4 separate regions of the Homo sapiens genome follow, and regions 1, 2 and 4 are each linked to region 3. The links are contacts of gene promoters, found by promoter capture Hi-C in blood cells and fetal thymus (Javierre and others, 2016). All regions are on one chromosome and are shown on one strand. The core of a region is centred on a gene start or on the middle of the fragment in contact, and the rest is flanking DNA. Distances in the headings are between cores, read along the strand shown.

Region 1 (6,778 bases), core at 459-2,958, 250 kb after region 3:
GGGTGTTATAACCAAACACGTAGCTAGGTGGCCTATAAACAACATAAGTTAATTTCTCACAGTTCTGGAGGCTGGAAGTCCAAGATCAAGGCCCTGGCAGCTTCAGTGTCTGGGGAGGGCCTGCTTCCTGGTGCATGGACTGGCCATCTTCCCACTGCGTCCTCACATGGTGGAAGGGACAAGAGAGTTTTCTGCGGTCTTTTTTTTTTTTTATAAGGGCATTAATCTCATTTGTGAGGGCACTGCCCTTGTGACCTAATCACCTTCCAAAGGCCCCATCTCCTAATGCTACCACTATGGAGATTAAGATTTCAACACATGAATTTGAGGGAGACATACTCAGTCCATTGCAAGATGTCACCATTAGAGAAATCCAGTTGAAGGTTCACAGAACTCCGTACTCTTTTTGCTACCTCTTGTGAGTTTATAATTACGCCAAAACTAAAAAGCTTTCTTAAAAATATATATACAAATTCTCAAGTAAAATATAGTAAACTTGTTACTTTTTCAGGTATTTGATGCCTTTATCTGTAAATTCTTTCAAAGGAAATATGGCATGAACAAATATTGAGACAGGGATGTTTCACCAACTCTCAACTCCCCTTATTCAAGGGTTGGATCATAATAACTACATCTAAGTAATCCAGAAATTATCATTTTACTGAAAACCACGAAGACTATGTAGATGGAGAGAGATGAAAGAAGTACTATTTTTAAATCTGCAGCTTTATATCAATATACATAAATACATACCAGATAACCATATTTTATAAGAATACATATATATTCAAGGGTATATGTCAAATTTTAAAAAGAAAGGGGATTTGGCGTGGTCCTATCATTATGAAAGGGGATTCGGCGTGTTCCTGTCCTTATTTTACTCATCATGTCATCCCCTATCGTCTACCAGGCGTCCAGGCGCTGAGGACCAACCTTCTCTTCCTCCTCTGGCTAAGAAAACAATCAGCTTTCCCAGAGCCACCGCTGTCTGGACGCTAGATGGCGCCGCTGAGCTCCCCCCACCCCCCGCCTTTCCCCCACCCCCCCGCCTCCTCCCCACCACCCCGCCCACACCTGCGGTTCCTGCAGAGGGGTTGCTCAGGTGACCGGGCCGTTTGGACCACTTGGTTCAAATTCAGGATCCAGGTAGATGCAGCTGGGGAAAGCAGGGAGGAATGGGAGGCTACAGACAGAATGACCACATGCGTGCCTTCCTGCAGGGCTTGTCTTCTCCAAAGCCCCTGGTCAGTCACATGTTTTACTTGGCTCCCTTCCTTCTTCCTCGCCTTCTCCAGACCCTCTAAGCATGTGCCTTTGTCTCTTCCCAAACCTCCTGAGTCGCCTGAGGCCCTCTGGTGGTTCAATTCTTTATTGGAAGAACAAGCAACATGTTTACCCCAAGGGTTTCCACGGAGAAATACAAACACGTCTATTATTGGCAAGAAAAGCAGCACTGATTTGTTGAAGAACTAGGGAATTGTTCTAATTCTGCAGATTAGTCTCTTCTTGTCTTTGGTTGAAGTAACACAACCATCTCCATAGAGGTTCCTAAGCATAGAGGAAGATTGTATTGTAACAATACAAGGCTGCCGTAACTATGTAATTGGCCATAATTGAAGACAAGAATGGTGGGAAGTATGGGTTTGCAATTACCTAATATTCCTGTCCTAACCCATTTCAGGAGATCTTGCTGCGAGGTGCATGTTACCCATATAACAGACCCTGGGAGTATACCCAGGAGCAGTGGTGCGGATCACAGAAGGGGCTTTAAGACGCCCCTGGTGTTCTATGGCCATTAGCTACCAGTAGGAGCAGCTGCACCCCTGGCTGACCACAGATGTGGCTGTCAAACACAGTGAGTTAACAAAGGACAGTGAAACAGGGGGACGTGCAAGTCAGAGGAGATGCCTGCTTCCTCCTAGATCCCCACCATTTTCCTGGCTTTCTACTCTATTCCCAAAAAGAAGACACACTGGGGTAGAGGGCTGAGGGGAATAATTCAGTCCACAGATGCAGTTTTCTCTCTTTTTGCTACCATGGTTCTGAATGAAGAGCTAATATTATACTATTCCCACCTGTGATGAGCCCCAGTCCTTTTGATTCTTTTTCTTCTTCATCATCCATCCAAACGTCCCCAAGTGGTAAACAGGCCAGCAAACCTGTTATCCTCTCTTCTGTCCCTTCCACACATGTTTTAGCTTTAGTGGAAGCTCACAGAATAACCCTCAATTATCTGTTGTGGTCTGTGGCATTACCTTCTTAAAGGAAAGCTGATGGGTTCTTTCAACAGGTTTGGGGTCCACTCCCAGCTAACAATTAGTGTGACCTTAGCCGAGCACAGTGTCTCACGCCTGTTATCCCAGCACTTTGGGAGGCCGAGGCGGGTGGATCACGAGGTCGGAGATCAAGACCATCCTGGCTAACATGGTGAAACCCCATCTCCACGAAAAATAGAAAAGAAAATTAGCTGGGCGTGGTGGCGGGCGCCTGTAGTCCCAGCAACTCATGAGGCTGAGGCAGGAGAATGGTGTGAATCAGGGAGGCTGAGCTTGCAGTGAGCCGACATCGCGCCACTGCAGTCCAGCCTGGGTGACAGAGCAAGACTCCATCTCAAAAAAAATTGTGTGACCTTGTTTTCCTTTACCATTGTTTCTAGTTGCCCAGGAATCTAGTGGGAAGATGTGGCTATGGTCTGGGGCAGGATATTTTGGGAAGCCTGGTGTCCAGGGATATTAGGCAAACAAACTTTTGCATTGCACTTAATATTTCAGAAACCCAGCTGAATAGCTCTTATTTTTATGGCACTAAGAAAGTAAATCTTAAATCTTTGCTCTTAACACCATTAAGACAAAATTATTATGAAAATTGGACAAAGTGCCTTATAGCAGCTGATATATTTAAAACATCAATGATTGTACCCTTAGCATTGTTTTATTTTTATTTTTTAAAATTATCTAAACATTGTTTCAAAGCTTGTGAAACTACTAAAAGACAAAGGATTGTAAATGTCAATGAAAGGAAAAGTAAAACAGCAAGTATTTTAGCATACGGGGGCAATCAAGTCATAAAGAAAAAGGGTTAGTAGCTCACTAGACAATAAATTATTATAAAGAAGAGCCAAGAAAAGTATTGCTTTGAAACTTTTTACTTTTAACCTTCAGCCTTACTGAAGAATTTGTTCACTATACTTTAAAAATTTATTATTCTGATCATATTTTCCTTGATTTAAGAGTAGTGTCTTCAACATTAGCTGATATACCTACTAATAGCATCCCACGTCCTACCATCATTTCTTACATCTGACATCTTCTGCTGTTGATCCATAGGTTAACAAAACAAAACAGAAACTACACACAGAAAGAAAAAGAAAGGGAAGAAAGAAAAAAGAAGGAAGAGAAAAAAGCAGAGACCACTTCCAGAATGATTGTATGAGGAGCTCTGCAGACCTGCTCCCCAGCAAAACACTTATATCTAGTTAAATGATTTTTAAGCATTTAAAGTCTCTGGAAATTGTTCCCAATAAGAACAATGAGAATCTATGACACTTGAGCCATGACTCACTTCCTCTCTCCTCCATCCCCCCAACTCACTTAACAGAAGCTCCACTCTTCATGGACTTAGCCAGGAAAACACAGCTCCCTCTCCATCCAGCTCCCAGTCAAGCAATACAATGGCTCCCCAGAAGAGGCAGGCCACCAGAATTCCTCAGCCCCCATTTTGCACAGGCTAAATTGTAGATGAGTGCAGCTGAGAGAATGGAAGCTTCTCTCCTCCACCCAGTCCCCACTCATAGGTGGAGACTACCCCAGGTGATGCAGGCTGAAATTACTGAAGCCCCAATTGCGTTTGGATCAGAGGTTCCATGCTACAACAGCAACCTGAGAAGACAAGAGGCTACTGCCACCACGCAGAGCCCTGCTCTGTAAAGCAGGAGGGCTCTGAGAGAAGCCAGCCACAGCCCCTACCCCCAGGTCTTGAGCAGTGACTCAAAGATTTTGCCCAAAGGAAGAGGTAGATCATAAGAACAGAGAGCACTGAAGCTCTCCCCCGACCCCCCAAGAAACTAACTTGATTTAAAACAGGATGTAGAGAAGTTCAAGCATAAGGGAACTCGCAAAAACAATGGAGATTTTGGTGGTAAACAATAAAGATAATGGGATAAACTATATGCCAGCCAGTTTACCAGAGAAAACAAAACAAATAGCTAAGAAGAGTCCTTCCACTGTCTGAACAAACCCCAAAGACTGGACTCAAAACAATCCTACAAAGGGACCCAAATTTATCTGGATCATACTGTGAAGCATTGCATACTCCAGGCATTGTAGAAAAACAATAGAAAATCAGCCAGTAATTAGTGTACCCTGACAGCTGGGTGTGATGCCAACAGAGACTGATGGCTTAGCAAAGAGATCAGGAAATGAGAAAATTAAAGAGAGGCCGGTTAAAACTTCTGTCACCCCAGATGACTGACTGTACATGTACCTAAGGCTGTGCCCTCTGAGGAGTGAAATCAGAGGCTTCACATTATGGGGAAATACACTTCACAAAATAGTCAAGCAAAGTCACTAAACAAATAAGCCAAAAACAACAAGAAGCCTTGGCCAGGAGTAAGGAGTACGTGGAGGGGAGGGCAGCATCAGTATCCAGAGTTGCTCCAATATATTATCTAAAATATGTTATCTAAAATGATCAGCTTTTAACAACAAAGCATTATGAGACATGCAAAGAAACAGAAAAGTATAACCCACAGAATAAAAAAACCCGGCAACAAAAACTCTGTGAGAGGGCCCAGATGGGGGAATTAACAGAGACATCAAAGCAGCTGTTATAAATATGGTCAAAGTACTAAAGGAAACTATGCTTAAAGAAGTGAATAAGGTTATGACAATGTCCACTCAAATAGAGAATATTAATATAAAAACAGAAAGTATTTTTTAAAAGAACCAAATGGAAATTCTGGAGTTGAGAAATATAATAACTAAAATGAAGAATTTGCTAGAGGAGCTGAGTAGTGGATTTGAACTGGAAGAAGAAAAAATCAGCAAACTTGAATACAGATCAATAAAGATTATGCAATTTGAAAAGCAGAGAGAAAAAAAGCAGAAAGAAAAATGAACAGAGCCTCAGAGAAATGTGTGACATTATTAAGTGTACCAAATATGCAAAATGGGAGTAACTGAAGGAGGAAGAGAGAGAAGAAAACAGAAAAAAAAATCTAAGAAATAATGCCTGAAAACTTCCCAAATATGATGGAAAACATTAATCCACATGTTCAAGAAGCTCAACAAGCTTCAATTAGGAGAAACAAAAACAGATTTAACCCAGACACATCATCTTAAAAATGTTGAAAGCCAAAGACATAAAGAAAATATTGAAATCACCGAGAGAAAAATACTAGTCACATACAAGGGAACCCCAATGAGATTAACAATTGACTTTTCATCAGAAATAATGGAGGCCAGAGGCACTGAGATAACATATTTAAAGTGCTGAAAGAAAAAAAACTGTCAAGCAAGAATCTTATATCCAGCAATATTGTTTTTTTAAAAATGAAAGTAAAATAAAACCATTCTTAGATAAACAAAAACTAAGAGAATTCCTTGCTGGCATGCCACCTCACAAAAAATAGCAAAATAAATTCTTTAGGCTGAAAGCAAATGGCCTAGACAGTAACTTAAACCCACAAACAAAATTTAAAGAGCACCAATGTAGATAATTTTGTAATTATAAAAACAATAGTGTAAATGCATATTTCTTCTTCTTTCTTTACTTAACTAATTTTAAAAGCAATTGTGGGCTCTGTGTGTGTGTGTGTGTGTGTGTGTGTGTGTATGTGTTTAAAATTGTATTGTTGGGTCTACACATATAGAAATGTATTTATTTTACAATAATAGCACAAAACCAGTAGGTGGGAGCAAAGCTGCACTGGAATAAGGAAATATCAGCTGATGGTAACTTGAATCCACAGGTACAATAAAAAGAGCCAAAAATGATAAATAAGAAGGTTAATATAACAAAATCTATAAATACATACTTGCTTTCCTTTCTTCTCTCAGCTTCTTTAAAAGGTACAGAATTCCATAAAGTAATAGTTATAACTATGTTATTTTGGGTTTGCAACATATATAGATATAATATGTATAACAATAATGACACAAAAGGAGAACAGAATATAGAGCTATACAAAAGCAGCATTTCTATAACTCGTTGGAATTAAGTTAGTATAATCTGAAGCAGATTCTGATAAGTTAAAATGTGTATGGTAAGGCCTAGAGCAACCACTAAGAAAATAACTAAAAAAAAAAATACAGATAAATGAGATTAACCAAGAAAAGAAGAGAGACTATCCAAATAAGCTCAATTAGAAATGAAACTGGAGATATTACAACCAATACCACAGAAATACAAAAATCATTCAAGGCTACTATGAATAGCTTTACACACACAAACTAGAGAATCTAGAGGAAATAGATAAATTCCTGGGAACATACAACTCTCCTAGAATAAATCAGGAAGAAATATAAACCCTGATCGGACCAATAACAAGTAGTGAGATTTCAACAGTAATAAAAAAAATTTCCAACAACAACAAAAGTTCAGGACTAGATGGATTCACAGCTGAATTCTATCAGACATTCAAAGAAGAATCAGTACCAATCCTACAGAAACTTTTCAAAAGATACAGAAAGAGGGAATCCTCCCTAAATCATTCTATGAAGCCAGTATCACCCGAATACCAAAACCAGGAAAGGACATAACAAAAAAAGAAAACTACAGA
Region 2 (6,434 bases), core at 3,239-5,738, 140 kb after region 3:
AATGACTGGCCATTAAATCCTTCTGCAAGTCAAGCAGTCTCCACTATTTTGTTTTCAACAAAAAGGAAGACAGATATATCCATCAATAGAAATTAAAAATTAATGAGAAACCACTATGCGGTTTTGGCATTTATTTTGGAAGGAGTACAAAGAATTGAGTGGCATTAGCATAACAGAATTGATTATATTTCTATTGATTCGTTTATATGAACAAGGCTTCTCAATTTTTGCACTGAAGTAATTTCATTTAAAAATGTTAATATCTACAATGTGCTAGAAATTACATCCTTTGCAAATATTCATGATGAAAAAATTTTAGAAGTTCAGCTTAAAATCAAGAGAAGACCTAAATTTTTAAAAATCCCTTTAGTGAATACAGAAGTAAAAAAGTTTGAAGACCATTGCCTTAAAGAAAAACTTACATGAATGCATAAGGATATTTTGTAAGAAGACTCATGATAGTAAAAAGCTACAAACAACCCAAATATTCATCAATACTGCATTGGATAAGCAAATTATAGAATATCCACACAGTGGAATGATATTCAGCAGGAAAAATGAACAAAACACAATTACCTACATCAACATGAATAAATATCATATACATAATGTTTAATCAAAGAAGAACCGTTCTTTTCCCAGAAGAATACAGAATCTGATTCCATTTTTGACAAGGTTAGTCGTGGAAAAAAACTAAAAATATATATTGTTTAGAGCAACAGACATAGGTGATACAAAACTATAAAGAAAAGCAAGGAAAGGCTGGGCGCGGTGACTCACGCCTGTAATCCAAACTCTTTGGGAGGCCAGAGCAGAAGGATTCCTGAGGACAGGAGTTCGAGACCAGCCTGGGCAAAACAGTGAGGCCCTATCTCTACAAAAAAAAAAAAAAAATTGGCCAGGTGAGGTGGTGCACAAGGTGATCTTGCTACACAAAAGTCCAAAGTGGGAGGATCGTTTGAGCCCAGGAGGTCAAGGCTGCAGTGAGCTATGATTGCACCACTGCACTCCAGCCTAGGCAATGGAGCAACACCCTATCTCAAAAAAAAGAAAAAGAAAGAAAGTGAATGATTAACACAAAAGAGAGGATAGTAATAATACCCTAGCGACAGGGAGAGGAACTCATGGAGGTGGGATGGGAAGCTTCGAAGGGCAATGCTCTACTCCTTAAACTGGGTATGGCTTTATTGAGCTTTATGCTGTACATATACTCTTATATATATATATTCATGATATACTTAACTATAAATATAGCTCAACCATATTGAAAAACATGAAACAAGACCTGAACAAACAGAAAAACAGACCATGTTCTGGTATGAAAATACTTACCACTATGAAGATATACATTCTTCCAAAATGGATATATACATAATTAAATTCCAATTGAAATCTGTTGTTTTTGTGTGTGGAATTAGATATGCTTTCTTCAGGCTCCCTTGTGCGGAAAAAAAATGCCTGAACATAAGTTAGTCTGGCATCGGCATAAAACACACAAATAAATCAGTAGGACAATATACATAGTACATAATGAATCCTAGTTAATAATGGGAATAAATGTATGAAAAAGCAGAGGAAAATTGGTTATTTAGTTAAGTGGTGAGGAAAAAACAGCTTTCCAATTAGAAGAAAGTAAAGCTGGGCTGCTACCTCACACTACATAAAAATCCAAGAGGCCGGGCACAGTGACTCACACTGTAATCCCAACACTTTGGGAGGCTGAGACAGGTGGATCACGAAGTCAAGAGATCGAGACCATCCTGACCAACATGGTGAAACCCCATCTATACTAAAAACACAAAAATTAGCTGACCGTGGTGGTGCCCGCCTGTAGTCCCAGCTACTTGGGAGGCTGAGACAGGAGAATCGCTTTATCCCGGGAGACGGAGGTTGTAGTGAGCCGAGATCGCACCACTGCACTCCAGCCTGGCAACAGAGCAAGACTCCATCTAAAAAAATAAAAAATAAAATAAAATCCAAGAAGGATTGAATTTGTGTCTGTAAAAAAATAACATGAAAATCTTAAGACAAAATACAGGAGATTATATGTACAAGCCAAGAGTTGAATGTACTTTCTTAACCAAGACATGAAGCCAGAAGTTATAAAAGAAAAGATGGCTTTAAAGTGTTTAATATGGCAAAGATGCCATAAACAAATTTAAAGATAAAAAAATAAATTTTTCTCTTGAGCCCAGGAGTTGTAGGCTGCAGTGAGATCTGATTGCACCACTGAAATCCAGCTTGGGTAACAGAGTGAGACCTCATCTCTAATGAAAAAAAAAAAAATTAAGATGAAATTTTAAAATCTATGTTACCAAAAAAACTCACAAAAATAAAAATGTGCAACATCCTTAGACTGTTCACAGATGAACAATCAATGGCCAATACACATGTGAAAAAAATTCACTTCATAATGAAGGAAATGAAAATCAAAACAACTTGAAAGCATTGTAAAAAGTTATATACTATTGACAAAAATTAGGGGTGAGCTGAGGTCTGGAGGTCGAGATCAGCCTGACCAACATGGAGAAACCCCATCTCGACTAAAAATACAAAAGGCCGGGTGTGGTGGCACATGCCTGTAATCCCAGCTACTCCGGAGGCTGAGGCAGGAGAATCGCTTGAATCCGGGAGGCGGAGGTTGCAGTGAGCCAAGATCGCGCCATTGCACTCCAGCCTGGGCAACAAGAGCAAAACTCCATCTCAAAAAAAAAAAAAAAAAAAAAAATAGTGGTGAGGTTGGGAAGAAACGCAAAAGATGCTTTAATGCATTGCTGGTAAATGTAAATTATTACAGCCTTTTAAGAAAGCTCTCAATAGGATTTATTTTATTTTAAAATATTTATACACTTTAATGCATCAACCCTATTCCAAAGACTCCGTCTCATGGCAATAAAAGCTCCAGTTAGTATAGTCTGGTTTTGCAGAATTGTTTCTAGAGGCAAAAACATAGGAAGAGAGGTAAAAGTGCATCAGTAGGGATACTCATATTGGTATACTCATATCATGGAAATATTATGCAGCACTAAAAAGGATTATTAGAATGGCTAAAATTAAATACACTGAACACACTGAGTGTTGGTGAAGATGTGGAGGGACTGGTGGTATATAAAATGGTGCAATTGGCCGGGCTCAGTGGCTCACGCCTGTAATCCCAGCACTTTGGGAGGCCAAGACAGGCAGATCACCTGAGGCCAGGAGTTCAAGACCAGCCTGGCCAACATGGCGAAATGCTGTCTCCACTAAAAATACAAAAAAAAAAAATTAGCCAGGTGTGGTGGCAGGCGCCTATAATCCCAGTTTCTCAGGAGACTGAGGCAGGAGAATTGCTTGAACCCAGGAGGCGGAGGTTGCAGTGAGCTGAGATCACACCAGTACACTCCAGCCTGGGCAACAAGAGCAAAACTGCATCTCAAAAAAAAAAAAAAAGTGGTGCAATGACTTTAGAAAACAATTGGCCAGTTTCTTAAAAAGTAATCTTACACACCCATAATATGACTCAGGCATTCCACTCCTAGGTATATTCCTAAGAGAAAAGAAATCATGTGTTCATAAATGTCTTATACCTGATCATTCATAAAGCTTTATCTGCAATAGGCAAAAGTTGGGAATAAACAAAATATCTATCAACAGGTGAATGGATAAACTAACTGTAGCATATCTATACAATGGAATATGACTTCTCAATAAAAAGATATGAGCTACTGATTCACACAACATGGGTGAACCTCAAAATTATTATGCTCAGTGGAAAAAGTCAAACAAAAGGAGTACATATAGTATATATGGTGTGATTCCACTTACTCTAGAAAATGCTCACTATTCTATAGTGACAAAAAGCAAGTCAGTGGCTGCCCGGGGATGGGGGTGAGAAGTGTCAGGAGGAAGGACTGACAAGGGTCATGAGGATATTTTGGGGGGGGCCAATGGATATGTGTCAAAACTTATTAAATCGTACACTTTAAATATGATTCTCTCTCTCCCACTCTGTCTCTCTCTCCCTCTGAATTCTCCCTCTCTCTCCCACTGAAAACTGGAATAAGACAAGGATGACCACTCTCACCACTCCTATTCAATATGGTACTGGAAGTACTAGCCAGAGCAATCAGGCAAGAGAAAGAAATAAAAAGCATTCAAATAGGAAGAGAGGAAGTCAAACTATCTCTGTTTTCAGACAATATGATTTTATATGTAGAAAACCTCATAGTCTCTGCCCAAAAGCTCTTACAGATTCAAGACAAACAACTTTAAGAAAGTTTCAGGATAAAAACTCAATGTACAAAAATTAGTAGCATTTCTATACACAAACAACGTCCAAGCTGAGAGTCAAATCAAGAATGCAAGCCCATTCGTAATAGCCACGCACACAGAAAAAAATAAAATACCTAGGCATTTTCAAATCTCTTTCAGTAAAATATCTTTCACCTCCCTAACCAAGGAGAGTTTTGTAATTCTCAACCCCAGTGAGGCGAAAGATCTCTACAATGAGAATTACAAAACAATGCTCAAAGAATTTAGAGATGACACAAACAGATGAAAAAACATTTCATGCTCATAGATAGGAAGAATCAATATTGTTAAAATGGCCATACTGCCCAAATCAATTTACAGATTCAATGCTATTCCTATCACACTACAAATTACCTTTTTAAAGAATTAGAAGAAACAATTCTAAAATTCATATGGATCCAAGAAAGAGCCCAAATAGTCAAAGCAATCCTAAGCAAAAAGAACAAAGCTGGAGGCATTACATTACCTGACTTCAAACTTTCCTAGAGAGCTACAGTAACAAAAAACAGCACGGTGTGGTACAGAAACAGACATATAGACCAATGGAACAGAATAGAGAGCCCAGAAATAAAGCCACACACCTACAACCATCTGATCTTCAACAAAGTCAACAGAAACAAGTAATGGGGAAAAGACATCCTAGTCAATAAATGGTGCTGGGATAACTGGCTACCCATATGCAGAAGATTGAAACCGGACCTCTTCATTTCACCATATACAAAAATCAACTCAAGGTGGATTGAAGACTTAAATGTAAAACCAAAACTACAAAATCCTAAAAGAAAACCTAGGGAATACCATTCTAGACATAGGCCCTGCCAAAGATTTCATGACAAAGATAACAAAAGCAATTGCAACAAAAACAAAAATTGACAAATGGGACCTAATTAAACTAAAGAGCCTCTGCACAGCAAAAGAAACTACCAACACAGTAAACAAACAACCTACAGAATGAGAGAAAATATTTGCAAACTATGTGTCCAACAAAGGTCTAATAACCAGAACCTATAAGGAACTTAAACAAATTAACAAGCAAAAACCCTTTTAAAAATGGGCAAAGGACATGAACAGACACTTCTCAAAAGAAGTCATATACATGGCCAACAAGCTTATGAAAAAATGAACATTACTAATCATTAGAGAAATGCAAATCAAACCCACAATGAGATACCATCTCACACCAGTCAGAATGGCTATCATTAAAAGTCAAAAAGTTTGGGAGGCCGAGGGGGGTAGATCATGAGGTCAGGAGTTTGAGACCAGCCTGGCCAACATAGTGAAACCCCATCTCTACTAAAAATACAAAAAATCAGCTGGGCATGGTGGCAGATGCCTATAATCCCAGCTACTTGGGAGGCTGAGGCAGGAGAATCGTTTGAACCTGGGAGGCGAAGGTTGCAGTGAGCCAAGATCGCGCCACTGCACTCCACTCCGGGTGACAGTGGGAGACTCCATCTCACCAAAAAAAAAAAAAAAAAAAAAAAATCAAAAAGTAACAGATGCTTGAGGTTGTTAAGAAAAGGGAATGCTTATACACTGCTGATGGAAATGTAAATTAGCTCAGCCACTGTGGAAAGCAGTTTGGTGATTTCTCAAAGAACTTAGAACTACAATTTGAACCAGCAATCCCATTACTGAGTATATACCCAAAGGAATATAAATCATCCTACCATAAAGACGCACACATGCATACGTTCATCGCAGCAATATCTGTGATAGCAAAGACCTGGGATCTACCTAGATGGCCATCAATGGTAGACTGAATAAAGAAAATTGCTACATATATACCTGTATATGGAATACTATGCAGTCATAAAAATGAGATCATGCCTTGTGGCAACATGGATGGAGCTTCAGCCCATTATCCTAAGCAAACTAACACGGGAACAGAAAACCAAATACCACATGTTCTCACTTACAAGTGGGAGCTAAACACTGAGCACACATGAACACAAAGAAGGGAACAAGAGACTCTGGGGCCTACTTGAGGGAGAAGGGTGGGAAGAGGGTGAGGATCAAAGAACTACCTATTGAGTACTATGCTAATTGCATAGGTGATAAAATAATCGGTACACCAAATCCCCATGACACACAATTTACCTGTACAACAAACCTGCACACATACCCCTAATCCTAAAATAAAA
Region 3 (6,712 bases), core at 534-3,033:
AATGAGTAGGATGTTGTTGGGAGGGGCCACTTGGTGGGCCTTGGGGCCAGACTTTGGAGAAGACTGTGCAGTGAGGGTTACAGAGGACTGGGATTGCAGGGGCTGAGCTGGGAAGGAAGCCAGAGACCTCAGGGGAGAAGCAGCCACCAGTTAGCTCTGTCTGGGCCTCAGCATCCCATCAGTAAGAATGTTGGGCCTGAACTAGATGCCTGTGAATGTCTCTTCCCCTATTAAGGTCTCAACATACTTCATAACATTTTTTAGAGCAATTCTTAGTCCTTTTTGCAAATTAGGGCCACATCATTCCCAACCAGGAACTCCTGTCCCCTTTCCCATGACAGCAATGTGTCCTGGCTTCATAGACTAACACAGTTCTCTGTGCCAAGATCCCATAAGGTTCTCTCTGCTGGATTTTCTCTGTGGGACTGAGGAGGAAGTTGCATGGTCCATGACTGTTTTTCCAGATCATGTAGGACATTCACAACCAGATGAAACAGATCCAGATGAAGGGTCTGGGGTGTGGGGAAACCTAAGTCCAGGGGAACCTGATAGACATGTTTTTCTCATTGCCACATTGTTAGATGTTTGTTCTATTCTGTTCACCTGGCAAACACTCCAGTCCTCCCCAGATCCCAGAAGTATATATGCGGATATTGCTTTATGATTGGTAAAGATCAATTTTGCAGTGCTGGGCTGGGCATGGAGGGAGTCCAGGAAGGTCTGTTGACTTTCTAGGAAGAAAGAAGAAGCAGGCCAGGCGGACAGCCTTACTCAGACCTGAACAGCCAGATTCTGGAAGGAGTACAATATTTCACCTACCAAAGGGAGTTAGTTCTTCCTAACTGGTGGCCTCTCAATCTCTTTGTCCCTGGCTTCCTTACATCCCTGGTGGAAATTGAGGCAGCACTTTACCAATGTAATCTCATTCCTCCTTTAGAGAGAACGGGCAGGCAGCTTAACAGGAAACAACAGCCGGGTGGGACTAGGCTGTGGCATGCAGGAACCTGCACTGTGCCTTCGCAGGGTTCGGGGAATGGGTCTGCACGCAAGGCACCTCCCTGCCTCCTCCTAGACCCTCCCCGGAATGGCACCTCCCATGTTGGCCACAGTGTGCATTGTCTCCAACACAGAAGATGGAACAGATAGTACCATCCTTGTCATATTGCTCTGGAAGAAAGCAAAACTCAGAGAAGCATCTTGCCAAATATTAAACAGTGACTTTGTCACAAGGCAAAAAGTTCTCCAGACGTGTTGGTCACAGCTCTTTTTATCACATTACAAACCTGCACACACCACAGCACACACAAATACACAACACACACACATACACAAAACACATGTACCACTCACACACATGCAGGTGAACACACAAACACATACACAAACACAAATATACATACACAACACACACACAACACTCACATACACACACAACACAAACATCACACACACAAACATCACTCACACACATTCATGTTAACACATACAAACATGTAAACACACATGTACAACACAAACACCCACACATACACATCCAAATATGACACGCACAAATACTCAGACTTACCTCTGCACCAGCTCACAGGCAAGAGAAAGGACCACGTTTCTGGTCTCCCGGCCACGCACTCTCACGGAGGAGGCAGAGAAAAGCTTCCACAGTGTATGAACACAAGGAGGACAAGGCCGATGTTTGCTTATATTTTCAGCAAAATGTTTTCAGAGAGCTGGGCTGGAGACCTGCCCTTGAAAGAGCAGTGTCCGCTGGAGATGGAGGAACAGGAAGTGGGTAGGAGCACCGGCCTTCCTGAGTCAGAAGAGTCTGCTGTTGCACTTTGCAGCCTCGGAAGTAGAAAAAGGGAGGATACCAGTGGTGGGATTATTTTTATCCTGAGCCAGGATAACTAGAACTCAGAGCTTAAAAAGAGGCAGATGCCTCAGAAAGATTTGTGTCAGGAGGAGTGACTTTCCCTGATCTCTCTTTTCTGAACCCCACCTCTTCCCCAGGGAACTTCTATGCCTCAGTATTGGGGCAAACAGTCATTGTCTCCTTTCTTCCCCAACCTCTCCTTCCTTTAATAGTTTCTCTCAGGACAAGGTCTGACACTCATTACCTCTAAGGCATGAATCATTGGTAATTACAATTGTTACAGCTTCTAGAAGATCTGCACTATAAGAAAAGGGAAAATACAAAAGAATGTCTAAAATGTAGGATTAAAGAGAGCACTTGTTATGGGGGAAGAACAATATTTTAAACACAGGCCAAGGGAGAAAACACCTCAGCATCCTCAAAAACATGTTTTCTAGGACTTTACTGACAGATCTGATAACTGTGGCTAAAGGGAAGCCATTGAAGGAAGAAATTCAGAACATAGGAGCATAGGTGATGATATTGTTACCACATGATTTTAAAATGTTAAGATTCCCTAAAAAAATTCCACTCAATCTACTATAATAGTTCTAATTTTCTTTGGTTCTGTTCTGGTTGATAATCATGGTGTATTTATTAAAATTGTTACATAGTATGTGTGTGTGTACATATATATATCTTTTAATGTTCTACTTAAATTATTCTGTAAATACCCTGACACAATTAATTTTTTTTTTTTGAGACAGAATGTCATCCTGTCACCCAGGCTGGAGTGCAGTGGTGTGATCTCAGTTCACTGCAACCTCATCCTCCCAGGTTCAAGCGATTCTCATGCCTCAGCCTCCCAAATAGCTGGAATTACAGGCGTCCGCACACCCGGCTAATATTTTGTATTTTTAATACAGACGGGGTTTTACCATGTTGGCCAGGTTGGTCTCAAACTCCTGACCTCAAGTTATCTGCCCACCTCGGCCTCCCAGAGTGTTGGGATTATGGGCGTGAGCCACCGCGCCTGGTGTAACATGATTAATTCTTTTTTTTTTTTTTTTCTCGAGACGGAGTCTCGCTCTGTCGCCCAGGTTGGAGTGCAGTGGTGCGGTCTTGGCTCACTGCAAGTTCCACCTCCTGGGTTCACGCCATTCTCCTGCCTCAGCCTCCTGAGTAGCTGGGACTCCAGGTGCCCACCACCACGCCCAGCTAATTTTTTGTATTTTTAGTAGAGATGGGGTTTCACTGTGTTAGCCAGGATGGTCTCGATCACCTGACCTCATGATCTGCCCACCTCGGCCTCCCAAAGTTCTGGGATTACAGGTGTGAGCCACCACGCCCAGCCACTTAATTAATTCTTAAAAGTCATGTGTTGATCTTTACCATTCCATTGCCTAAGTGTTTAGAAAGTATTTAGAATGTTATTACTCCACCCATAATTGAAATTAACCATCTATTTTGAATTTTAATCATTTCCATCTTCTGCAAGCTGACTCTGGAGAGTTGCCCAGACCTGCAGTTGACTGAGCCAGGGATCAATCAGCTCAGCGTTTAGCCATGAGAATTGGGAAGTGTTTGTTACTGCAAGGTAATCTGGCCTAATCTAATTGATACAGCATATAAATCTGATGTTGGTTCTTTTGGTTTGTTTTTTATTTTTTGCTGACTCTCACTTTTGGTGATTTCTTTTCTGGAATTACATTCACAGTCTTTGATTGTGAACTTAAGTATGGAAATCCTTGGGATTGAAATCAAGGTGGCTTTACTCCAGAGAAGATTTGTGTACATTTTTATCAGGAACTGACAAGGGGGTGCTGGTACTACTAAACTGAGACCACTTCAACCCCATTTTCAGATTTCTGGCTTAATCCAGAAATTCCTCAATCTACAACTCACTTTACAACTGATTCCAAATTTAGGCTCCAGAGAGTATGGCTGAGAGCTTCATTTGCTCTTGGGGCAACCAATCTTCCCTTTGAGTTTATGGCTCTACTCCTGTTTCAGTTTATTTATTTATTTACTTATGTATTTATTTGGTTATTTAAAAAAATTTTGCCCACATGGTGTTATCCCTCACTTCCTGCAAGCCAAATAATGTAGTCCATTGTTTTGTTGAGGGAGGACTTCTCTATGCTAACACAGCATATTTACAAAGAATGTAATTCACAATCTCTGTTATGATCTTGTTTCTTTTTTTATTATTATTATACTTTAAGTTCTGGGGTACATGTGCAGAACGTGCAGATTTGTTACATAGGTATACACGTGCCATTGTGGTTTGCTGCACCCATCAACCCATCCTCTACATTAGGTATTTCTCCTAATGCTATCCCTCCCCCAGTCCCCCATTCCACAACAGGCCCCGGTGTGTGATGTTCCCCTCCCTGTTCCATGTGTTCTCATTGTTTGATTCCCACCTGAGTGAGAACAGGCAGTGTTTGGTTTTCTGTTCTTTTGTTAATTTGCTGAGAATGATGGTTTCCAGCGTCATCCATGTCCCGGCAAAGGACATGAGCTCATTCTTTTTTATGGCTGCATAGTATTCCATGGTGTATATGCACCACATTTTCTTTATCCCGTCTATCATTGATGGGCATTTGGGTTCATTCCAAGTCTTTTCTATTGTGAACAGTGCCACAATAAACATAGGTGTGCATGTGTCTTTATAGTAGAATGATTTATAATCCTTTGGGTATATACCCAGTAATGGGATTGCTGGGTCAAATGGTATTTCTAGCTCTAGATCCTTGAGGAATCGCCACACTGTCTTCCACAATGGTTGAACTAATTTACACTCCCACCAACAGTGTAAAAGCGTTCCTATTTCTCTACATCCTCTCCAGCATCTGTTGTTTCCTGACCTTTTAATGATCACCATTCTAACTGGCGTAAGATGGTATCTCATTGTGGTTTTCATTTGCATTTCTCTAATGATCAGTGATGATGACCTTGTTTTCATATGTTTTTTGGCTGCATAAATGTCTTGTTTTGAGAAGTGTCTGTTCATATCCTTCACTCACTTTTTGATGGGGTTGTTTGTTTTTTCTTGTAAATTTGTTTAAGTTCTTTGTAGATTCTGGATATTAGCCCTTTGTCAGATGGATAGATTGCAAAAATTTTTTCCCATTCTGTAGGTTGCCTGTTCACTCTGATCATAGTTTCTTTTGCTGTGCAGAAGCTCTTTAGTTTAATCAGATCCCATTTGTCAATTTTGTCTTTTGTTGCCATTGCTTTTGGTGTTTTAGTCATGAAGTCTTTTTTCATGCCTATGTCCTGAATGATAATGCCTAGGTTTTCTTCTAGGGTTTTTATGATTTTAGGTTTTAGGTTTAAGTCTTTAATACATCTTGAGTTAATTTTTGTATAAGGTGTAAGGAAGGAGTCCAGTTTCAGTTTTCTGCATATGGCTAGCCAGTTTTCCCACTACCATTTATTAAATAGGGAATCCTTTCCCCATTGCTTGTTTTGGTCAGGTTTGTTGAAGATCAGATGGTTGTAGATGTGTGGTGTTATTTCTGAGGCTTCTGTTCTGTTCCATTGGTCTATATATCTGTGTTGGTATCAGTACCATGCTGTTTTAGTTACTGTAGACTTGTAGTATACTTTGAAGTCAGGTAGCGTGATGCTGTACTACAAGTCTACAGAACTTTGTTCTTTTTGCTTAGGATTCTCTTGGCTATGCAGGCTCTTTTTTTGGTTCCACATGAAATTTAAAGTAGTTTTTTCTAGGTCGGTGAAGAAAGTCAATGGTAGCTTAATGGAAATAGCATTGAATCTACAAATTACTTTAGGCAGTATGGCCATTTTCACAATATCGATTCTTCCTATCCATGAGCATGGAATGTTTTTCCATTTGTTTGTGTCCTCTCTTATTTCCTTGAGCAGTGGTTTGTAGTTGTTCTCCCTGAAAAGGTCATTCACATCCCTTGTAACTTGTTTCCTAGGTATTTAATTTTCTTCATAGCAATTGTGAATGGGAGTTCACTCACGATTTGGCTTTCTGCTTGTCTATTATTAGTGTATAGGAATGTTTGTAATTTTTGTACATTGATTTTGTATCCTGAGATTTTGCTGAAGTTTTTTTATTAGCTTAAGGAGTTTTGGGGCTGAGATGAGGGGTTTTCTAAATATACAATCATTTCATCTGCAGAGACAATTTGACTTCCTCTCTCCCTATGTGAATACCATTTATTTCTTTCTCTTGCCTGATTGCTCTGGTCAGAACTTCCAATACTATGTGAATAGGTATGGCGAGAGAGGGTATCCTTGTCTTGTGCCAGTTTTCAAAGAGAATGCTTCCAGCTTTCGCCCATTCAGTATGATATTGGCTATGGGTTTGTCATAAATAGCTCTCATTATTTTGAGATATGTTCCATTAATACCTAGTTTATTGAGTGTTTCTAATATGAAAGGGTGTTGAATTTTATCGAATGCCTTTTCTGCATCTATTGATATAATCATGTGGTTTTTGTCATTGGCTTTGTTTATGTGATGGATTACATGTATTGATTTGTGTATGTTGAACCAGCCTTGCATCCCAGGGATGAAGCCAACTTGATCGTGGTGGATAAGATTTTTGATGTGCTGCTGGATTTGGTTTGGCAGTATCTTATTGAGGATTTTCACAATGATGTTCATCAGGGATATTGGCCTGAAATTTGTGTGTGTGTGTGTGTGTGTCTGTTTCTGCCAGGTTTCAGAATCAGGATGACTCTGACTCATAAAATGAGTTAGGAAGGGGTCCCTCTTTTTCTATTGTTTGGAATAGTTTCAGAAGGAATGGTACCAGCTCCTCTTTGTATCTCTGGTAGAATTTAGCTGTGAATCCTTTTGGTCCTGGGCTTTTTTGGTTGGCAA
Region 4 (7,452 bases), core at 3,475-5,974, 200 kb before region 3:
ACCATCTGCTATGGTTTGAATGCTTGTGTGACCTCCCAAAATTCATGTTGAAACTTAATCCCCAATGCAACAGTATTAAGAAGTGGGGACTTTAGGAGGTGATTAAGTCCTGAGGGCAAAGCCCTCATGAATGGGATTAACAACCTTATAAAAGGGCTGGAGGGAACTAGCTAGGCCTCTTTTTGCGCTTCCATGTGGGGACGCATAAAGAAGGCGCCATCTTGGAAGCAGAGGGCAGCCCTCACCAGACACTGAATCTGTTGGCCCCTTGATCTTGGACTTTCCAGCCTTCAGAATGGGGAGAAAATTTCTGTTCTTTATGATTTTATAAGTTTTTGTTCTTTATAAATTACCCAGTCTCAGGTATTTTGTTATAGCAGCGCAAACAGACTCAGACATTACCGTGACCATGTTTGAGGGGATGGTTCAGCAGTGTTAAATATACTCATATTGTGGTGCAACCAATCTCCAGGACATTTTCATTTTGCAAAACTGAAATTCCACTCCCATTAAACAACAACTCCCCATTTTCCCCTCCCCACAGGTCCTTGCAACCACCATTCTACTTTCTATTTCTATGAATTTGACTACTCTAGATACCTCATATAAATAAAATCAGGTGGTATTTTTAATTTTGTGACTGGCTTATTTCACTTAGCATGATGTCCTCAAGGTTTATCCATGTTGTAGCACGTTGAGACTGGATTTCCTTCCCTTTAAGGCCTGCACAATATTCCATTGCGTATATATACCATATTCTGTTTATCCATTCATCTGTCAATGGACATTTGGGTTGCCTCTATGTTTTGGCTATTGTGAATAATGATGTTGTGGATATGAGTGTACAAATGCCTCTCGATATCCTTCTTTCAGTTATTTTAGATGTATACCCTTCATTACACTCCTCATTCTCCAGCTGGAATACAATTAGTTTTGTGATTTGTTTCCTGCCACTGTGGTAGGCTACATGGTCAGTGCTGTGGATGGGTGAAACCAGAGGGTTAAAATTCCTTGAATTTGACAAAGTCATACACATTAACTTGTGTGTGTCTGTGTGTGTGTTTGAGATGGGGTTTGTCCTTGTTGCCCAGGCTGGACTGCAGTGATGCAATCTTGGCTCACTGCGACCTCCAACACCCGGGCTCAAGTGATCCTCCCACCTCAGCCTCCTGAGTAGCTGAGATGACAGGCGTGTGCCACCACGACCAGCTAATTCCTTCCTTCCTTCCTTCTTTCCTTCCTTCCTTCCTTCTTGCCTTCCTTCCTCCCTCCCTCCCTCCCTCCCTCCCCCTCTCTCTCTCTTTCTTTTTTATTGTAGAGACGGGGTTTCAACATGTTGCCCAGGCTGGTCTGGCACTCCTGGACTCAAGTGATCGGCCTGCCTTGGTCTCCCCTCAAAACATTTGTTTTTTTGTATTGAGTAAAGGCTCTTCAGTTGTTAGTTGTATAGCATTTAAGTTTGAGGTATTTGAAAATGGATGAAATAGAAAATCAAGCAGTATTTCTCTCAAATGCAATGAGCCAATATTTTTTTCACATTCTCCAACATATAGATGCAGAGATGAGGCTAAAGAACATGGAGAGCCTTTCCCATCTGGTAGCAATATATATATATATATATATATATATATGTTTTTGAGATGGAGTCTGGCTCTGTCACCCAGGCTGGAGTGCAGTGGCATGATCTCAACTCACTGCAGGCTTCACCTCCCAGGTTCAAGCGATTCTCCTGCCTCAGCCTCTTGAGTAGCTGGGACTACAGGTGCTCGCCATCATGCCCAGCTATTTTTTTTTTTTTTTGTATTTTTAGTAGAGACAGCATTTCACCATGTTGGCCGGCCTGGTCTTGAACTCCTGACCTAGGTGGTCCGCCCACCTCGGCCTCCCCAAGTGCTGGGATTACAGGCATGAGCCACCTCGCCTGGCCTCGTAGCAACATGAATTGAAGGTAAGTGATTAATTTTGGCCACATCCATTCAATGGGAAGGCAGGGAACCTCTTTTTGGGAAAAATAAACCTGCTTAATGTTTTCCAGAAAAATAGTTTATAGTATCTTGCCAAGAGCACAATCATTGCCAGTCGTACCCGGAGGCACAGAGGTTGTGAAAGGTGCCAATGTCATCTGTTTTGTATAACCTTGAATACCTTATGTGTGAAATGACTTTGTGTGTTTAAATGTGTAGGGCTTTTTGATATGGGGTTATTCTTCATGTATTCTGCATATTATGATATGTTTGGTGAATCCCAATCTTATAAAAGAGAAAGGAAAATCAGCACTGCTGGTAGCACTTGAAATTCAATAGGTGTAGAGATTATTATTATTAACAAAGTGACTAAAATAGGAGGACTCAATTTGGAAAATTTGAGACGTGAAGCCTTACTGGTTAAAAAGAAATCAATAGATAAAAGGTCATTAATTTAGTACTTTCATTTTTGTATTTTTTGAAAAAGAGGCCCCCCAAGTTCTATAAGCTTCAAGCTCCATAAATCCTGGATCTACCCCTGGTGACGGCTCGGCCCCTTCACTTGCTGGGAGGGGAAGGTAGTTTTATCAATAGAACATTCCCTTTGCCACATTGAATGCCACTTGATTGTCTCCCCAAGGACAGACCCTTCTCCTCAATTTCAAGGGCTCCGTGTGTGTGTGGGGGGGGCGTGGGGGGGAATTATGCAGTCATTGTCCCCTGTGTCTCATTCTAAAGCAGCAGGGGCTTGAGCACAGGCACGGGTGTCTCTGAAATAGTTGTGCGCTGGGGCCTCCTCCTGCCCCGTCAGGGAGAACGTGGTGGTGGTGGGGGGAGGAGCCATTATGGTGGTAATGTGTGTGTGTGTGTGTGTGTGTGTGTGTGTGTGTGTGTGTGTGTGTGTGTATGGCTCACACCGACCCCTGACTTTGCAGTGTCTGCCTAAAGTACTCGGCATTTTCGGTGACTCCTCATGTTGCTGATTTGTTCCCTGGGGGCTGCACCCTCTGCCTTTCCCAACCACGGTGTCTCTCTGCCCTTGCTGCCAGGTGTGTGGGCCCACTCTGCCCTTCACTGGGTAAATCCTCTTAGTGGGAGGCCACACCTGAGGCAGGAAGGGCTCTCAGCCCTGCAGCATGGGCTACGTCAGTGCCCAGCAGGGCTCCCAGCTCTCACCACCTGGCTGCCTATCAGGTGCCCTGACGCTGCAGCTGCACGCTCTTGATGCTTATGGGGCCAATTTTCCATCCTCCATCCACCACAACTTACGTATCCCGCTGTCCCATGTCCCTGTAGGGCTAATGAGAACTTCTCCAGGCCAAGCAGTGGCAAAGTGGTGCCAACAGCTCCATGCGTATTGGGGCTCCCACGTCACGTGAGGGTGCTGAGGGCCTCAAACGCCTTTCACCAGAGGCCTGACTAGTGCGGCAGGTCAGGAAACAAGAAGAGACTTTAGAAGAGGGAGGCCTTGCCTTGTGTTCCTCAGAACCGGGACACTTGGTCCTCACCGGGGTGAGGCTGGGCAGAGTGCACCCTCCAGCCGCCTGTACCTCCACAGCCCTGCAGGCCGAGAGATGCAAGATAAACTGTGGATGGCACCCACTTTGGAGTCAGGAGGCCTGAGACTCTCCCCCAGCTGGTTCCTTCACGACCTTGGGGAAGTCACTTCCTTTCTGGGGGCTACAGTTTCTTCACTGAAGAATGAGGAGGTTAGATGGGAAGTCACTACTTCCAAAGATTTGTTTTTTTTTTAATGAAAGTAAAATCTTATTTTTTCAAAATATCACTAGGAAGACCCATGGATCACCCCAGGAGTGTTCCAGCTACAGCATGGGATGGGTCTCCCTCTCCCCAGCAACCTTGTCTGCTGGGCCCACCCCTTAGGTGTCCGGGGGCCCCCACTAGAACCTGCAGAAAACATTTGGAACCCACTGGACTTGCTTGCAGGTCCCGTAGAGTCCCACCCTCTAGGATTCTCTAAGGAATTCACAGGTACCCCCTCCGACCCCCAACCACACTCTCCACAGACACATGCACAGAAACGTAAGCACTGCCCACAGCTGTGTGCACACACAGGGACTTTCAGAGGCATGATTCAGAAGCCACACTGGGCAAAGTGCCCTCCTGCTGTTTGTGTTCACTCACGCAGCCCTTGGCCGCCTTCTTCCTGTCTTCTTTATTTGCTGCTGTCACTCCCACCTCCTGTGGAGTAGACCAGATGGCCGCATCTGCCCAAGGAAGTGTCTACAGAGGAAATGGCAAAGTGCATTCCAGCCAAGGTAGAAATCACTGGCAGGCAAGCTCTCAGGGCCAAGGCACTGGGGCTTTGGAGTCCTGGCCTGGGTCCCTACCCAAACCCTTGTCCCCTCAGATACATCCCTAGACCCCTTCCTGAGCAACCTGGAAAGAACCCGCAGACCCATTTTCTGCACATTCCTCAGCCCCACAGGGAGAGGAAAATGCTCCACCTCCTCCAGTTGCTGCCCAGGCTGCCGGCTACGAGGGGCTGTGGCTTCCACATTCCCTTCTCCAGTGCAGCCAGGCTTGACCTTTCAGAAAATCCTTGACGATGGGAAGGACTCCCAAGGATGGCATAGAATAGCCAGGCCCAGCCCCTGGACCTGCATAAAGCAATTGTTTGGAGGCAGAGAGTCGGATGCCTGGTGAATGGGGGGCTGGTACTCAATATAGTCAGAGAAGGCAGTGTCCTTACTCAGCTGCTCTCAGAGCGAAGGCACTTGCCCTCTGCAGGCTGCCCCAGAAGCCAAAGGAAAGCAACTGGAAGCTAAAGGGAAGGTTTGGGGACTTTAATAGCTGATATAGTTTGGATATTTGTCCCTGCCCAAATCTCATGTTGAATGAAATGTAATCTGCAGTGTTAGAAGTGCCTGGTGGGAGGTGTTTGGGCCATGGGGGCAGATCTCTCATGAATGGCTTGGGCCATCCTCCTGGTGATGAGTGAGCTCTTGCTCTGAGTTCACATGAGATCTGGTCATTTAAAAGTGTGTGGCACCTTCTACCTCACCAACCCCCCACCTCTCCCTCTTTCTCTCTCTGTCTCATGCTGAAGGAGACATGGAACAGTGAGATTCTCCCTTGGAGCCTCCAGAAGGAACCTGCCCTGTGGACACCTTGATTTTAGCCCTGTAGGTTCATTTCAGACTCTGGACTTCCAGAACGCTAAGAGAGTAAGTCTGTGTTGTTCAAGCCACTTTTTGTGGTGGTTTATTATGCAGCAATGGAGAACAAATACACCCGGCATGTCCTGGGACAAAGCCTGGGGACGGCGGGGGGACTGAGCTGGACGCCCATACCCCAAAGCACGAAGGGAAGAGACCAGCAGCTAACACTCGAAGAGGCCGACTAGTTCTCAAAAGGGAGAAGAGGTATGGCCTGAAAGCCAAGGAGCAAGGGAGATGCTAACTCTAACCGCATTATTTTTTTGGAGACAGGGTCTCCCTTGGTCACCCAGGCTGGAGTGCAGTGGTGCAATCATGGCTCACTGCAGCCTCGACCTCCTGGGCTCAAGCGATCCTCCTGCTTCAGCCTCCAGAGCAGCTGGGACCACAGGTGTGCACCACCACGCCCTGCCCCCTAACCCCATTTTCTGTCCCTGGGGTACATGGGGTGTGAGATAATAAACAGTCCCCACTGGAGAGAGATTATTTAATCCTCATCCTACTCCACAAGACCATTATCGTTACGATCTTCCTTCTATAGATCAGGAACCTGAAGTACTTGGGGGTGGAGGTCACTTGCTCAAGTTCAGGCAGTTAGGAAGGGCAAAGCAGAGGTTTGAACCGTGCCTGCACCTGTGAAGTTTGGAAACCATCATCGCATTCCCCCAGGGGAATAGTCTAGGATCTGAGTTCCAGCTTCTCCATCTGAGGCAGCGGTCCCCAGGCGCTGGCAGCAACGTGCAGCTGCTGGGGTACGAGGCAGCTGCCTGCAGAGACCGTGCCTTCCCCTTGGTGCAGATGCAGTGGGCAGCCTGCACTTTGCTGCTCCTGTGTCCGACTCCTTGGGGTTCTGTTCTGGAGACAGAGCTCAGTGGACTCACAAGACGGTCACTTTCTTCTGTTGAGTCCCTGAGTTTATTTGATGAAATCCAGAACTGAAGTTCCTGGAATAAGTCATCTTACCACCAGTGTTTTGAATTAACGAACTCAAATGTCATCTCCTCCCACACAAACATTTCTCTTTAGACATACAAGGATGAAGATGAAGAGAAAAAGCCAGGCCATATGCTGGGCTGTGGTGCGGATTACATTCTGTGTCCGGGGTGCTTGTTCGAATGTCCTACTTGGACGAGCTATTTGTGGGGCATAAGCAGAGAACCCAGACACAGATGACTTGGGAGGGGGCTCAGGATGCTTCAGTTTCCCCAGACACTCCTGGCTGTGCCATTGCTCTGCCCACTGGGAACAGTTTATATGATTCTCAGATAAGAACCACATCAGCAGAGAAGCCAAAAAGGAGATACGACCCTTGTTTCATCGTCCCTTGGTTCCAATTTCCTCAGGGGATTGGGCTACTCTAAACTTTTCTTGAAGTGAACAAGTCTTGAGATACATTTTTTTTTTTTTGAGATGGGGGTCTCACTCTGTTACCCAGACTGGAGTGCAGTGGTGCAAACACAGCTCACTGCAACCTCAACCTCCTGGGCTCAAGTGATCCTCCCACCTCAGCCTCCCGAGTAGCTGGGACTACAGGCATGCACCACTACACCGAGCTAAGTTTTTATTTTTTGTAGAGATGGAGTCTTGCTATTATGCCCAGGCTGGTCTGGAACTCTGGAGTTAAGTGATTTTCCTGCCTTGGCCTCTCAAAGAGTTGGAATTACAGGCATGAGCCACTGTGCTGGGTTATGAATATTTTTTTAAATGACGTGCATTCCAAAACAGTTTCACAGGGCTATAAGGAAAAGAAGAAAATTAGGCAACTATTTTGTATACTGCTTATAAAAAATACCGTTGATTTTCTTTCCTAGGTGTAATTAGCTTTTGAGTGGGAAAGCTTGTATTCCCACTTTGAATATTCTATTCAAAGTCGAGGACAGTCAAGTACCTCACATTCTAGAGAGAACATCAACAGTCCTCTTGGCAGTTATTGAAAAGGGACAGACCAACTCTGTCACCCCACTCTCCCTTCATCGGCCCACACTCAATACCAACACCAGTCTGGAGTGCATACTTGGAAGACTTGAAGGGGGAAAAGGAGTGAGAAGGAGGGGCTGTTGGAACCTTGAGCTGTGGGGAAGAGAGGCTTTGCTTAGGTGCTGGGGAGACTCCAGCTCCCACTTCAGCCCTGTGTCTGGGCCTGCTCCATGGTGGTGCTGAGGCCCTTCTGTGCCTGTGAAGCTGGACTATGAGAATTTTGTCTTTCTTGTGACTCCCTTTTCCACAGATCTTGGAGTTCAACAGGACACACAAGTCCTAGAACATTTAAAAACATAAGTAAATCCCCCTCCTTCTCCCACCTGGAGAAC

Evidence for each region. The method cuts DNA at HindIII sites, captures the fragments that hold promoters and counts their contacts. A CHiCAGO score of 5 or more calls a contact.
Region 1: a contact is called between a fragment that was not itself captured here and the fragment with the promoter of GIMAP6 in region 3, in 1 of 17 cell types (M2 macrophages). The highest score is 5.4, in M2 macrophages.
Region 2: a fragment that was not itself captured here is called in contact with the fragment with the promoter of GIMAP6 in region 3 in 2 of 17 cell types (naive CD8 T cells and non-activated CD4 T cells); the score reaches 5.7 in naive CD8 T cells.
Region 4: a contact is called between a fragment that was not itself captured here and the fragment with the promoter of GIMAP6 in region 3, in 6 of 17 cell types (non-activated CD4 T cells, total CD8 T cells, activated CD4 T cells and 3 more). The highest score is 7.0, in non-activated CD4 T cells.

The regions. Positions count from the first base shown.
Region 1 is chr7:150,875,935-150,882,712 of GRCh38, forward strand. LOC105375567 (a long non-coding RNA gene) reads right to left here and starts at 1,196. Exons shown (of 5, transcript XR_928171.3): 1 at 1,075-1,196. The HindIII fragment of the contact is 2,523 bases long and covers 448-2,970 here.
Region 2 is chr7:150,768,975-150,775,408 of GRCh38, forward strand. The region is part of intron 2 of LOC105375566 (a long non-coding RNA gene); the gene reads right to left. Among named protein-coding and RNA genes, the nearest start is that of TMEM176B, 28 kb to the right of the region's middle. The HindIII fragment of the contact is 1,816 bases long and covers 3,581-5,396 here.
Region 3 is chr7:150,630,602-150,637,313 of GRCh38, forward strand. It overlaps GIMAP6 (GTPase, IMAP family member 6), which reads right to left and starts at 1,784. Exons shown (of 3, transcript NM_024711.6): 1 at 1,568-1,784. RefSeq lists enhancers at 1,195-1,274, 1,545-1,634, 1,645-1,734. The HindIII fragment of the contact is 8,992 bases long and covers 1,649-6,712 here.
Region 4 is chr7:150,424,773-150,432,224 of GRCh38, forward strand. No RefSeq gene overlaps it. Among named protein-coding and RNA genes, the nearest start is that of LINC00996, 5.2 kb to the right of the region's middle. RefSeq lists an enhancer at 4,054-4,223. The HindIII fragment of the contact is 4,508 bases long and covers 2,471-6,978 here.